2 separate regions of the Homo sapiens genome follow, and region 2 is linked to region 1. The links are contacts of gene promoters, found by promoter capture Hi-C in human tissues and cell types (Jung and others, 2019). All regions are on one chromosome and are shown on one strand. The core of a region is centred on a gene start or on the middle of the fragment in contact, and the rest is flanking DNA. Distances in the headings are between cores, read along the strand shown. Region 1 holds the start of WNT3 (Wnt family member 3). Region 2 overlaps NSF (N-ethylmaleimide sensitive factor, vesicle fusing ATPase).

Region 1 (5,246 bases), core at 2,637-5,136:
CGGAGTGGGACCAGGCGCGACCCCTTCCTCGCCTGCTGACCTCCCGCCTTGCTATCAGCACTGCCGCCAGGGGGCGCGCCCGCGCCGCTGGGCTCTGAGCCGACCTCCGCGTGCACCTGCGCTCCTTTGTGTGTTAGATTAACATCTGGTGCTTACCTACTATGCGCTTACTCGGTGCAGGTCAGGGGCTTCCTGCATTTCCAGGATGCAGCCTCTATGCCAGCAAACTAGGCTGGGCAGTGGAAAGAAATCCGATTTACTCCTGCGCCCACCACCCACGCTAGGGCCTTCCTGCTTCCAGGCTCTGCTGTCCAGCCTTCCAGTGGCCTCTAGGGAGCTCGCCTAAAACCGCTCTGCGGTTCCTACAGCTCCTAGGAGAAAGTTAAACGCCCTCCTCTCCAGGTCAGAGGCCTTGGAGCCCCCTATGTGCTCCCTTTGCACTGTTCCTCCATAAGCCCTGTGGTGTTAGGCCTTCGGCCCTTCGCACTTCCCCACCTGCTTCCCCGCTGCAACGGCTTCGCCTCTCCCTTTACCCCCCCAGGTTGGTCCGGCTCCCGACTCCCGCCTGGCAGCCCCAAGACCTGTTTCAAGCAAAAATGAATGGCACAGTGCCTGGATCGGAGATTTCCTCCTCCTTCCCCGCGACAGACGGGTAGCCCCATGAGGGCGGGCGGGGGCCTGGCCACCGGATTCTTTGTCTACACGGTGCCTCCGCAGGGGGTCCAGTGGAGCCTCACTGAATACACAGCGGCAGACTCTGAGCCCCGGGGGAGTGCACATCAAAAGGAACCTCCGAGCCAGCTAGAGAGAGGGGTTGGGTTGGGACTGGGGTCCCCTTCCCAGGTCTAAGGTCCCACACATTCACACACACAACAAAAAGTGCTTCCCACGTGCCACCCCATGTCCCCAGGTCCCTGGCCCTTGCTGCCTCTTCTGCCCTCTTCCAAGAGACCACCCTTCCTTTCAGGGCGATGGCCTCCTGGTCCACCGGCTGATGCCTCCACCCCGCCCTCCCTTCCTGGTCTTGGAGTGAATTTAACCCTTTCTCCACCAAGTGAAACCACCCTGGGGCTTGGGGTACCTGTTAGAGAGAGGGTGTTTCTATCTGTGATGTGTGGTCAGGGGCGCCCGCCCTCCCCTGAGAGAAACCATTCCTGCGTTTCCACCCGCGGCAGCGCAAGGGGTGCAGGAGGAAGGAAATTAAACCTGTGTTGAAGGAAGGACACCTGGGGGAAAGGAAGGGACTCAGGCTCCCCTTGTCTGAGGAGCTTTCAAGTGGCGGAAATCCCCACACACACCTCCATTCACTAGGGGCCTGGCAGGGCCGCTGGTAGGTTCCAGTCCTCTCCTCTGTCACTTCCCAGGCGCACATGGCCAGCTCCTAGATTCCACCCTTCAACCCACTTGTTTCCTGCCTGATGCACATGACCTGCGTCTGAGTTCTCCAGGCTGCCTGGAGGAGGCATTCAGGTACACATGACCCCTCAGGGAATGATGTTCTTGCCCACAGCACCCAGGATGCTGGCTGGGCATATCTCAGCCAACACACACTCCCACCGACAGCCTCGGATCTTTTGCTCCCACCTCACAGGGTTGGCACCTGTGGAGTCTTGAGGCCCAGTAATGACCCCAAGAAGCCATCAAGTCCAGGCCCTGTCGCCCCACCATACTGCATCCACAGTGGTGTCTGAGTGGCCAGGGAAGGTAGCCCTCCCCAGCTCTCAGCACCACTGTCATGGGGCTCTGGAACTCCCGAGCCCTTGGGCAGGACTCCAGCAGGCAGCTCTGATCAGAAAGCCACCTGGGAGCCCTGTGGGTGGGACAGGACTCCAGGTAGGACCTAGCAGGCCTCCATCCAAGAGGGAGGTATGTGGAAAGCTCTCCACTGCCAGAGCCTTGGTCCTGAGGCTCTGCATTCATGGCAATGGTAACCCTCTTTCCAGGTGAATCAGAAACAGGGCACCCCAGAATCAGCCCAGCCATGAGGAGCATCTCTAGGGATCCCCATCTCTGCAGCCCCCACCAGGTTCACCACTCCTGGTCAGGTTCACGATTTTTCTTCGCCTTGCAGCTCCTTGGTGCTCTCCGCCTCCCCCCTGCCCCTTTCTTCCTCACACCGGTGGCTCAGCCTCCCCCCGACAGTTTTCTTGGTTTCTGTCTCAGCGTCTCTCTCATCTCTGAGCCCCTCTCTCTCTCTCCTCCTCTCGGATTCTCCTTTTCCTCCCCTTCCTTCCTCTCTTTCAACCTCCCCTCCCACCCCCTCCAGTCCAGCAATGGGCTGGGAACGCAGCAGGAGCCATGACAAGCCCAGGCGGCTCTCCCGACCCTTGGTGCCCCCGAGGCCATTTCCCCGCGCTCCCTGTGCCGGCAGCAGCCGCGTGCGGAGAGGGCTCGCCGACCAGAAGGGGCAGCAGGTTGGAGCTGTGGGTACGGGGGGCTCAGATCAAAGGCCAGGAATGTCTGGCCCCCTGGCGTAAGACTTCCTTCAGCCATGGCCCTCACCTCGTGGAACGCCCGCCGTTCCAGGCCTCTGTGGGACTCGGGTCGGCTCATTCTCTGCCCTTTCTGCCACAGTTCCCTACACAGCGGTCCCTGCTCCCCACCGGCAGTGCTTCCTTCACCCCAGACCGGGGCTGCGCAGAGTCCTGGTGCCTCAGGTGGCCTGGGAGGGGGCCTAGGGAAAGGCACCCAGGTGACCGGGCGTGAGTCCCCAAAACCTGACCATGATGTCAATACCACCCAGGGCTGAGACCTAATTCCTCGCTCTGGAGAGGGAGAGGAGAGGAAGCAAGCCCGAAGGGGGCCTGGAAGGACTCCTTTCCTGTGGGGAGGGGTGGGTAACTGGAGGCATTTGGTGTCCGCACAGGGCAAGGGCCTTTATCGCCAAACCCCAGGCTGGAGCTCCCTATCAGTAGAACCGGGGCCTCAGGCGGGACGGTCGGGCAGTGAGGGGCGCTCCGGAGGGCAGCAAGGTCTTCCAAGGACCTGGGCCGCCCTCGGCCAGAGCTGCGCGTTTCACCGGTCCCTGATGGTCCAACCGAGAATCCCACTGAGGCTGTGGGTCACGCCTCCGACCCGGGCCAGAGGTCGGGCCTGAACCCCTCAAGGAGGAGAAAGTGACCCGACTCCGAGAGCAGGAAATGCGACTGGCCGCTGGTGTCAGTTGCAGGAAATGCAAAGGCAGCAGGAGGTCCCGATACCGATCTGATCCCTGACAAAAGACTCAAATGACACTCGGCTCCGTCCCCCGGCGCCGCCCGCAGCCAGACCTTCGAGCCTCCGCGGACTTTTCCGCACGTTCCTCGGACACCCGGGAAGTGACCTCCCGCGGCCAGGACGAGAGGCCAGAGAGCGGGCGGACTCGGGAGGCTGGAAGCTGGGAGGGGGTGCGTTCCCCCACCCTCTGATCCTGACCTGCCCGAGCGGGGCTTCTGGAAACATCCCTGTGCTTTCTACCCTCGATTCCTCGCGGGCCCACGTCCCAACGGGTCACGGTCCCCGCCAGCAAAGGAGCCACCCGTTCATGCCCACGCCAAGCCCTCGCCATGTGAACGCCCGGGTCAAAGCCCCCGCGCCCTAACCCTGGCCAGCGGGGGACCGCGGCGGTAGCAGAGGGTCCGGCCCACCGCGTCCCCCCGAAGCCCCGCGGCGTCCGGGGCGCGGGCTTTGCCCAAGTTTGCTGGGCGATGCCCTTCCCGGAGCCCGAGTTGTGGGCCGGGCGGGAGGGGCGCGTGATTGACAGGCTGAACTACAGACTCATCTCTTACCTTAGGCCGCGGGCGCTGATTGGCTGCTCGCTGACATCCTCAAACCCGGCTGCTCCGCGCTGGGCTCGGGAGGGGGGCGGCTGCGGGTGGAGGTGCGCTTCTGACAAGCCCGAAAGTCATTTCCAATCTCAAGTGGACTTTGTTCCAACTATTGGGGGCGTCGCTCCCCCTCTTCATGGTCGCGGGCAAACTTCCTCCTCGGCGCCTCTTCTAATGGAGCCCCACCTGCTCGGGCTGCTCCTCGGCCTCCTGCTCGGTGGCACCAGGGTCCTCGCTGGCTACCCAATTTGGTGGTAAGACTCGCCTCTTGTCTGCCCGCGGCCCGGTTTCTCCGCCGCGTCCGGGGAAGGTGGGGGCGCCGGCTGGGGGTGGGCCGCTGCAGGGCTGGGGCTCCTCTCCTCGCCTCCCTCCAGCCCCCCACCCGCCCACCCCTCCTGGATTTTCTGCTGGTGTCGCCTTCAGAATCCAACTCCTGGCTCCTCTGATAATCACCATTTTCCCTGCTCCCCGCTGCAGGGGCTGGAGGACTTTTCCCATCTCAGAAGGTTTCTTATTCTTAGATCCTAACCCTCTGCCCGTCCCAATCTAGAGGCCCCCGAAGACCCCCCATTTGCTTGCAGTTGGGTTTCTGGAAATCCAGCACTGTCCCTGGGGCCCAGCCACTCCTCTTCTCCATTTTGGGGTCTTCATGGGCAAAACCATCCTGTTCCTTCACTGCCACCCCACCTCTGCCGGCGCCTCCATCAAGAGATTCCCCATAATAACCCCCCTTTGCCTTCCTATTTCAGACCCCAAAGGCTTCAGGGCTCCTCCCGGGGCAGGGGAGTGGGTGGGGGGATTTCATCAGATTCTCCCCACCGCTCTAGATTCATCTTGAGCCTCTGAAGTGAATATGGTATTTGCTGATCCGGGATGCCATTGAATTCGGATTTTATTCATTTCTTGCTTGTCCACCCTGGCAAAAGGGGGGTTCCTTGAAAATGTGTTGTCTGGGAGGGGTAGGCTTGTTGTTCTTTGACCAAAAATCCAATTCTCCATGTCACATTTCTTCCTTTTGGAAAACCGAGGACCGAGGAGAAAGGGAGAGGGAAGGGAGAATTCCGTCCCTGAGAAATGTGGATACAAAAGACATTTTAGTAAATAAGACTGGGAAGCCGGGAGCAGTGCTTGGGGGGGGCTGTGCGTGTCTGGGGGGCCTGGGTGAGGAATAAACATCGCTTTGGGAGCCCCAGCTCCAGGAGTCCCCTTGTTTTCCGAGCGGCCCCATCGCCGCTCTCCCACCCTCCGCAGGTCCCAGGGGCCAGAGGGGAAGACACTGAAACCAGTTCTCTAAATTACACTCCGCCTCTCCCCAGTCTCCAGCCCCCTACATTCCGGAAAACTTTAATTAAAGAATCTTCCCCTCCTGGACATAGGAGAGCCTTGGCCTGGGCGGGGGGAGGTGAGGAGGAAGAATTTGGGATCTGTGAGTGAGAAGTG
Region 2 (5,422 bases), core at 2,382-4,881, 73 kb after region 1:
CAACCATTTTCAATTCTCTTGGCTTTTCTTCTTATATTTACTTCCTTATCTTCAAATAATAATGTTACATTACTGGTTTTAGATTTTTGTTTTCAGCTTTAAATATGATTTACTAACTTCCTACCATGGAAGATGGGGATTTATTATTAATTTTGCACTACCCCCCTTCCCCCACCACATGCCCCTTTTTACATCCTTCCGATACAGTTATTTCACAGTCTTTAGTTAAATCTATATTCAGTATTTATTATGTTTATACAAATGTGGTTTACAGCTAGGCCATGCAGAGTACTATTCAATTTCCTTTCTTGGACAACATTTTGTTTTACTGGAGTTAATTGCCTTTTTCCCCTTTGCTTAGTTTACCAGGTACTTATCACAAGTTTGTCTCTAAAACAATCACAAGTCTCCTTTCAGTATGTTCAAACACATTACATAGTTTAAAGTTGTGTTCTTGAAGAAATTCCCCTCCAGGAGTCCTGTGTGTTCACAGTTCAATCTGAAGCGGTGACTCTCTAGGCCTGGGGCACAGCTGTAGTTCTGGAGCTTTCCTCTCTCTTCTGTTAGATTCCCTGTATCCCAGCCTTCCTTTTCCTCATCTATTCCCCTGTCTATGCTGCATGTACCCAAAAGCTTCCTCAGAAAGAGTGAGGGAGGTAAAATTTTAAAGACCTTGCATGTCTGGAAATACCTTTATTCTAGCCTTACTATTGTATCCTTTGTCTTAATAGTTTGGCTAGTTGTAAAAAATAAGGTTAGAGGCCAGGTGTGGTGGCTCATGCCTATAATTCCAGTGCTGTGGGAGGCCGAGGCAGGTGGATCACCTGAGGTTCAGGAGTTTGAGACCAGCCTGACCAACATGGCGAAACCCCATCTCTACTAAAAATACAAAATTAGCTGGGCATGGTGACACGTGCCTGTAATCCCAGCTACTTGGGAGGTTGAGGTAGGAGAATGCTTGAACCCAAGAGTCAGAAGTTGCAGTGAGCCGAGCCAAGATCACGCCATTGCACTCCAGCCTGGGCAACAAGAGCGAAACTCCATCTCAAAAAAATAAATAAATAAATAAAAAGGTTAGAAATAATTTTTTTCTCACAATTTTGAAGGCACTGAAGGCTAAAAGACAAATGCTATCTGATCTTTGATCTTTTGTTTCTAACCTTTTTAATACAAAACTTTCAGAATCTTTTCTTCATTCCTATGTTCTGCAATTTGAAAACTACATATCCTAAGATGGTTCTTTCTATACTCATTTTGCTGGCACTAGATTCCTTCTTTCTAAACTGGAAATTCCAATCATTCAGTTCTAGGAAATACATTTCCTTGAGATTTCCTCCCATTCATTTTCTCTGTATCACCCACTGGGAACCTCTTAGTTGGATACTGATTCTCTAGGACTAATCTTCTAATTTTCTTATTTACTCTTAGTTTTTATTTCTTTCTCTTTCTAATACTTTTCAGGTTAGTATCAATTTTATCTTCCAACCTTTACACTAACTTATTTTTCAGTTCTAAGAGCTCTTCTTGTTTTCTGAATGTTTTCTTTTTTAATTGCATCCTGTGCAATTAAAATACAATATCTTGTTTTAGATCTCTGAGGCCGGTGGCTCACACCTGTAATCCCAGCACTTTGGGAGGCTGAGATGGACAGATCACTTGAGCCCAGGAGTTTGAGACTTGTCTAGGTAACATGGCGAAACCTCATCTCAACAAAAATACCAAAATTAGCCGGGTGTGGTGGCAAATGCCTGTCGTCCCAGGTACCTGGGAGCCTGAGGTGAGCAGATCGCTTGAGCCAAGGAGTTTGAGGCTGGAGTGAGCCGAGATGGCACCACTGCACTCCTGCCTGGGTGACAAAGTGAGACTCTGTCTCAAAAAACAAACTTGTGAATATTATAGATTGCAAAAATGATGTTTTCTTCTGTTCCTTGTTTTGTCTGTTTCCTATGACTTGCCCCTTTTTCCAATTTGTTTTCTGGAGGCTTTCCTCAAGTGTCTGGTGATTGCTGGATAGCTAATTCACATTTAAGAGCTAAACTATGAATGGAAATACTGTGTCGGGGGGCTTCACTATAGGATGATCAGGTAAGACCTGGCTGATTACTGGGGGTCCTTCAAAGGTCAGTATGTGTACATTTTTCCCAGAGAAGAATCTTCCAGTCTCCTTCCCAAAGACTATAAAGCCTCGTTGCCAGCATACTGGAGTCAACAGGGTAATGTTTCTGGGTATCTCGCCATTTAATAGGGACACCTCCACTTAATCCTCTTTGTAGTATGGCACCTCTCCAGATCAGTCTCTCAATTAATTTTCATTATAATCATGAAAATTCAGTACTACTACTATCCCCATTTTACTGATGAAGCTATTGAATCTCACAGATATAAGTCATTTGTGTTCAAGGCAAGTCATTTGTGTTCAAGGCCAAATAACCAATACATGATGGAGCCAAGACTGGAAACCAGATCCAGACCTAAATCATATACTGCCTGTCTTTACAAAGAAAAACACATTACTAAAAAAGTTTACTTGGAAAATGAAAAAGGAATAAGTTTTAAACTTATGTCACTAGATTTATAATACACACTCAGTCCATAGATAAGTCTTCAGTAAAGACTAATCATTGAACCTATACACAGATCTTGGAAATTCAGAACATTAAAATAAATGGGCTATCGGGAAAAGATTTTAAGAAACCAAAATAATTTCAATTTGGGTTTGGTAAACATTATACCACTACTGTCAATAAGACACATTAGCCTTTCTCAATGTTACTCATTGTTTTTATCCACCTGCTGTGCCAAGAATGGGCAAGGTACCACCATAAACCAATGCAGATCAAAGAAACAAAGTTGAGACCCTCTGGTACAATTAGCCATTAGCTTAACAGATGACTGCGCATAGAATATGAGATAGAAGTACACCTGTGAGCATTCAGATTAAAGGGTAATCATTATTATTATTTGAGGAATCAACTAGGAAAAAATCAAATGCTTATCATCAGACATTTACCAAGTTCCTAGATGAATATGCAACAGACCTTCCACAGAAAGACAGATGCAAAATAGATAATTATAGTACAATATGGAAAGGTGGAGGTATTACGCACAAGGATGTCAGGTAGAGGGAAGAAACACGTGGCAGAGAAAGCTTTTTCTGGAGGAGATGATACATGAGTTGAGTCGTAAGGAATGAGTAGGTTGATTAGGAAGATGAAGGGGAAGGACATTCTAAGCCAGAGGAACAGAAATACCTAAGTCCAAGGGCAAAATAACAACAAAAGCTGGGTGTTGAGGTAATTACAATCGAGTAAAGACATACATTTTTACTATAACAAAAAGTGGTGCTGTTATATTTAAAGTATTTTTTAACACTAAATTCTAATGGCAAACTTGGGAACATAGCCCTAAAGGCTAACAGATGCCAAAGGCCACACATGCTGATACATCCTCAGTATGATTAAAGGTAACTGTTACTTCTCTTTTTTAGCTTTTTAATGTTCCATAGTCCATAATGCAAACTTCCTCATCTTGCTCCTCTCTCACAAAGGACAATGTTGGCCCTAGAACAGTGGCACTGAGGAAGAAGCTTCTTACTCATTCCAGAAAGCCGGACTTTTAAAATCGCTGCCAGTTTCCTCATGAGATGTTCTCTTACATTAACAGTGACTATGCTCTTCAAAGTGTTGAAAGATTGGGAAATGTAGAGCAACCATACTGGAGACGCTAATTTATGTTTTGCTTTCCTTCTTGTTTAACAAGACTCCAAAAACTGCAAAGAGGTCATGACCCAGGCAAGTTTGGGTCTTGACTTGTAAAGCGTCATCTTTAAGAAAACATTGAAAAACATTACCAAATTATTAAATTGTGCTGGGCCATTTTGTGTATTAATTAGTGGTAGTGCTCATAAGGAAGCTTTATCATGAAAAACAGCTCCGAATATATTAAAGTGATACATTGCATGGGATTCGTCTGAAGGGAAACACTGCCAGCAGCATGAAATGGGGATGCAGCTTTAAAAACAAAAGTGGTGCTCAACCCAAGAGGGGACCTCCACCTTCCTAATGTGTGGCCACCAGTCTTAATGTCCACAGTGCCCAAACATGCCCCTTGACGGAAAGCAAAAAAAAAAGCACAGAGTGATAACCTATTTGGGAAAAAAGAAATTGCTCCCAGCATACTCTTTACTGAGATTTGCTAGTCCTGATGCTATAAAGAAAAAGCCTAAGTAAAATGACTATCTGCCAATCGGATTATGATAAACATTGTTCCAAGGTTAAATAAGTATTAGTTAACTAATTCTTAGTACCATAAGCAGCAACTCAGGTGAAAACATTTCCATGAAAAAGGCAGGGCTCAGTCAGGTGTTGATCCTTCAAAAAAAACACTTCTTTACATGATGAAGAATGAGCGAGTACTAAGCAGCATCTAAGCCTTTTGCCACACAAAGGACCAACCAGATAATCCACACCCTTTCATAGGTCTTGCCCATTGATTGGACCCAATAAACTGATTTGTAACAAAAGTTCAAGTGGAAGAAAGCTTTTTTTTTTCCCTAAATAAAAATGCCACTAATATAATACTGCAGTGAAATGGAAGGGCTGATTTCAACCTATGAACAAAAGTAAAGTCAGTTATGCAGGAAAGAAAGGCCATTCTTTCCATATCATTCAATGCTGAGCAAGTGTAATACACCCTTGGTAAGAAGAATTAACTGTGAACAATTGAAAACCCTGAAATGGATTAAGAAGTGAGTTTAAAAGTGCAACTCAAAACTGCTATGTGCTGGGGGCATTAAACTTTATTTTCTGCTTAGTAGAATCTGATGTTTTTGTAAATGAGAGTGAAATATTTCAGAATATTAAGCATTTGTAAATCTGGTAAGTAAAATATGAAATAGACATTAGCCAATTGGAGCATTAACAATAATTTACTCCTTTTAGGTACTTAATAGAATTATGAGATTTGGTTTGTGCCTTCAAATAAGTTACAACTTAGCTGGGAAAACCAAATAAATATTCAGGGAACACAACCAAGTAACACACTCGCAAATACAAACTAATCATGGCGGAGGGCACCCGGTTTATGGGGACAGTTTCCTGGAGGGGGGTTATCTAGGAAGGTTATCCGTAGTACTGCAAAGACAATGACAACAAGTAGGCACTGGCAAGGCCCTTGAAAAGAAGGGACAGGTCCTGAATGCGCCTAAATCCTATGTGTGTGGTAGAAGCAGCTGAGACAGAGCACCAAGGCTGAAAACGAAGTTGTCTGCAGACACAGGGAGGGAACAATCAGCAAAAGGCAGACTCGGGATGCTAAACTAAGGGAAATATTTAATATAAAAAGCAACAGGAAACCAGAGAAGGCTCTTGAGGAGGAAGACCTGTGATGGAGAAGAGGGTTCTGGCAGCCACAGGCAGGAGGT

Evidence for each region. The method cuts DNA at HindIII sites, captures the fragments that hold promoters and counts their contacts. A contact is called where the count stands out against the background at its distance.
Region 2: a contact is called between a fragment that was not itself captured here and the fragment with the promoter of WNT3 in region 1, in 3 of the 25 tissues and cell types used here (dorsolateral prefrontal cortex, mesenchymal stem cells and spleen).

Annotation. Positions count from the first base shown.
Region 1 is chr17:46,817,332-46,822,577 of GRCh38, reverse strand. WNT3 (Wnt family member 3) reads left to right here and starts at 3,886. Exons shown (of 5, transcript NM_030753.5): 1 at 3,886-4,060. The coding sequence starts at 3,981. It also overlaps a transcript of LRRC37A2 not described here. RefSeq lists an enhancer at 2,244-2,831. The HindIII fragment of the contact is 29,146 bases long and covers 1-5,246 here.
Region 2 is chr17:46,743,750-46,749,171 of GRCh38, reverse strand. The region is part of intron 17 of NSF (N-ethylmaleimide sensitive factor, vesicle fusing ATPase); the gene reads right to left. It also overlaps a transcript of LRRC37A2 not described here. Among named protein-coding and RNA genes, the nearest start is that of WNT3, 72 kb to the left of the region's middle. The HindIII fragment of the contact is 3,479 bases long and covers 1,892-5,370 here.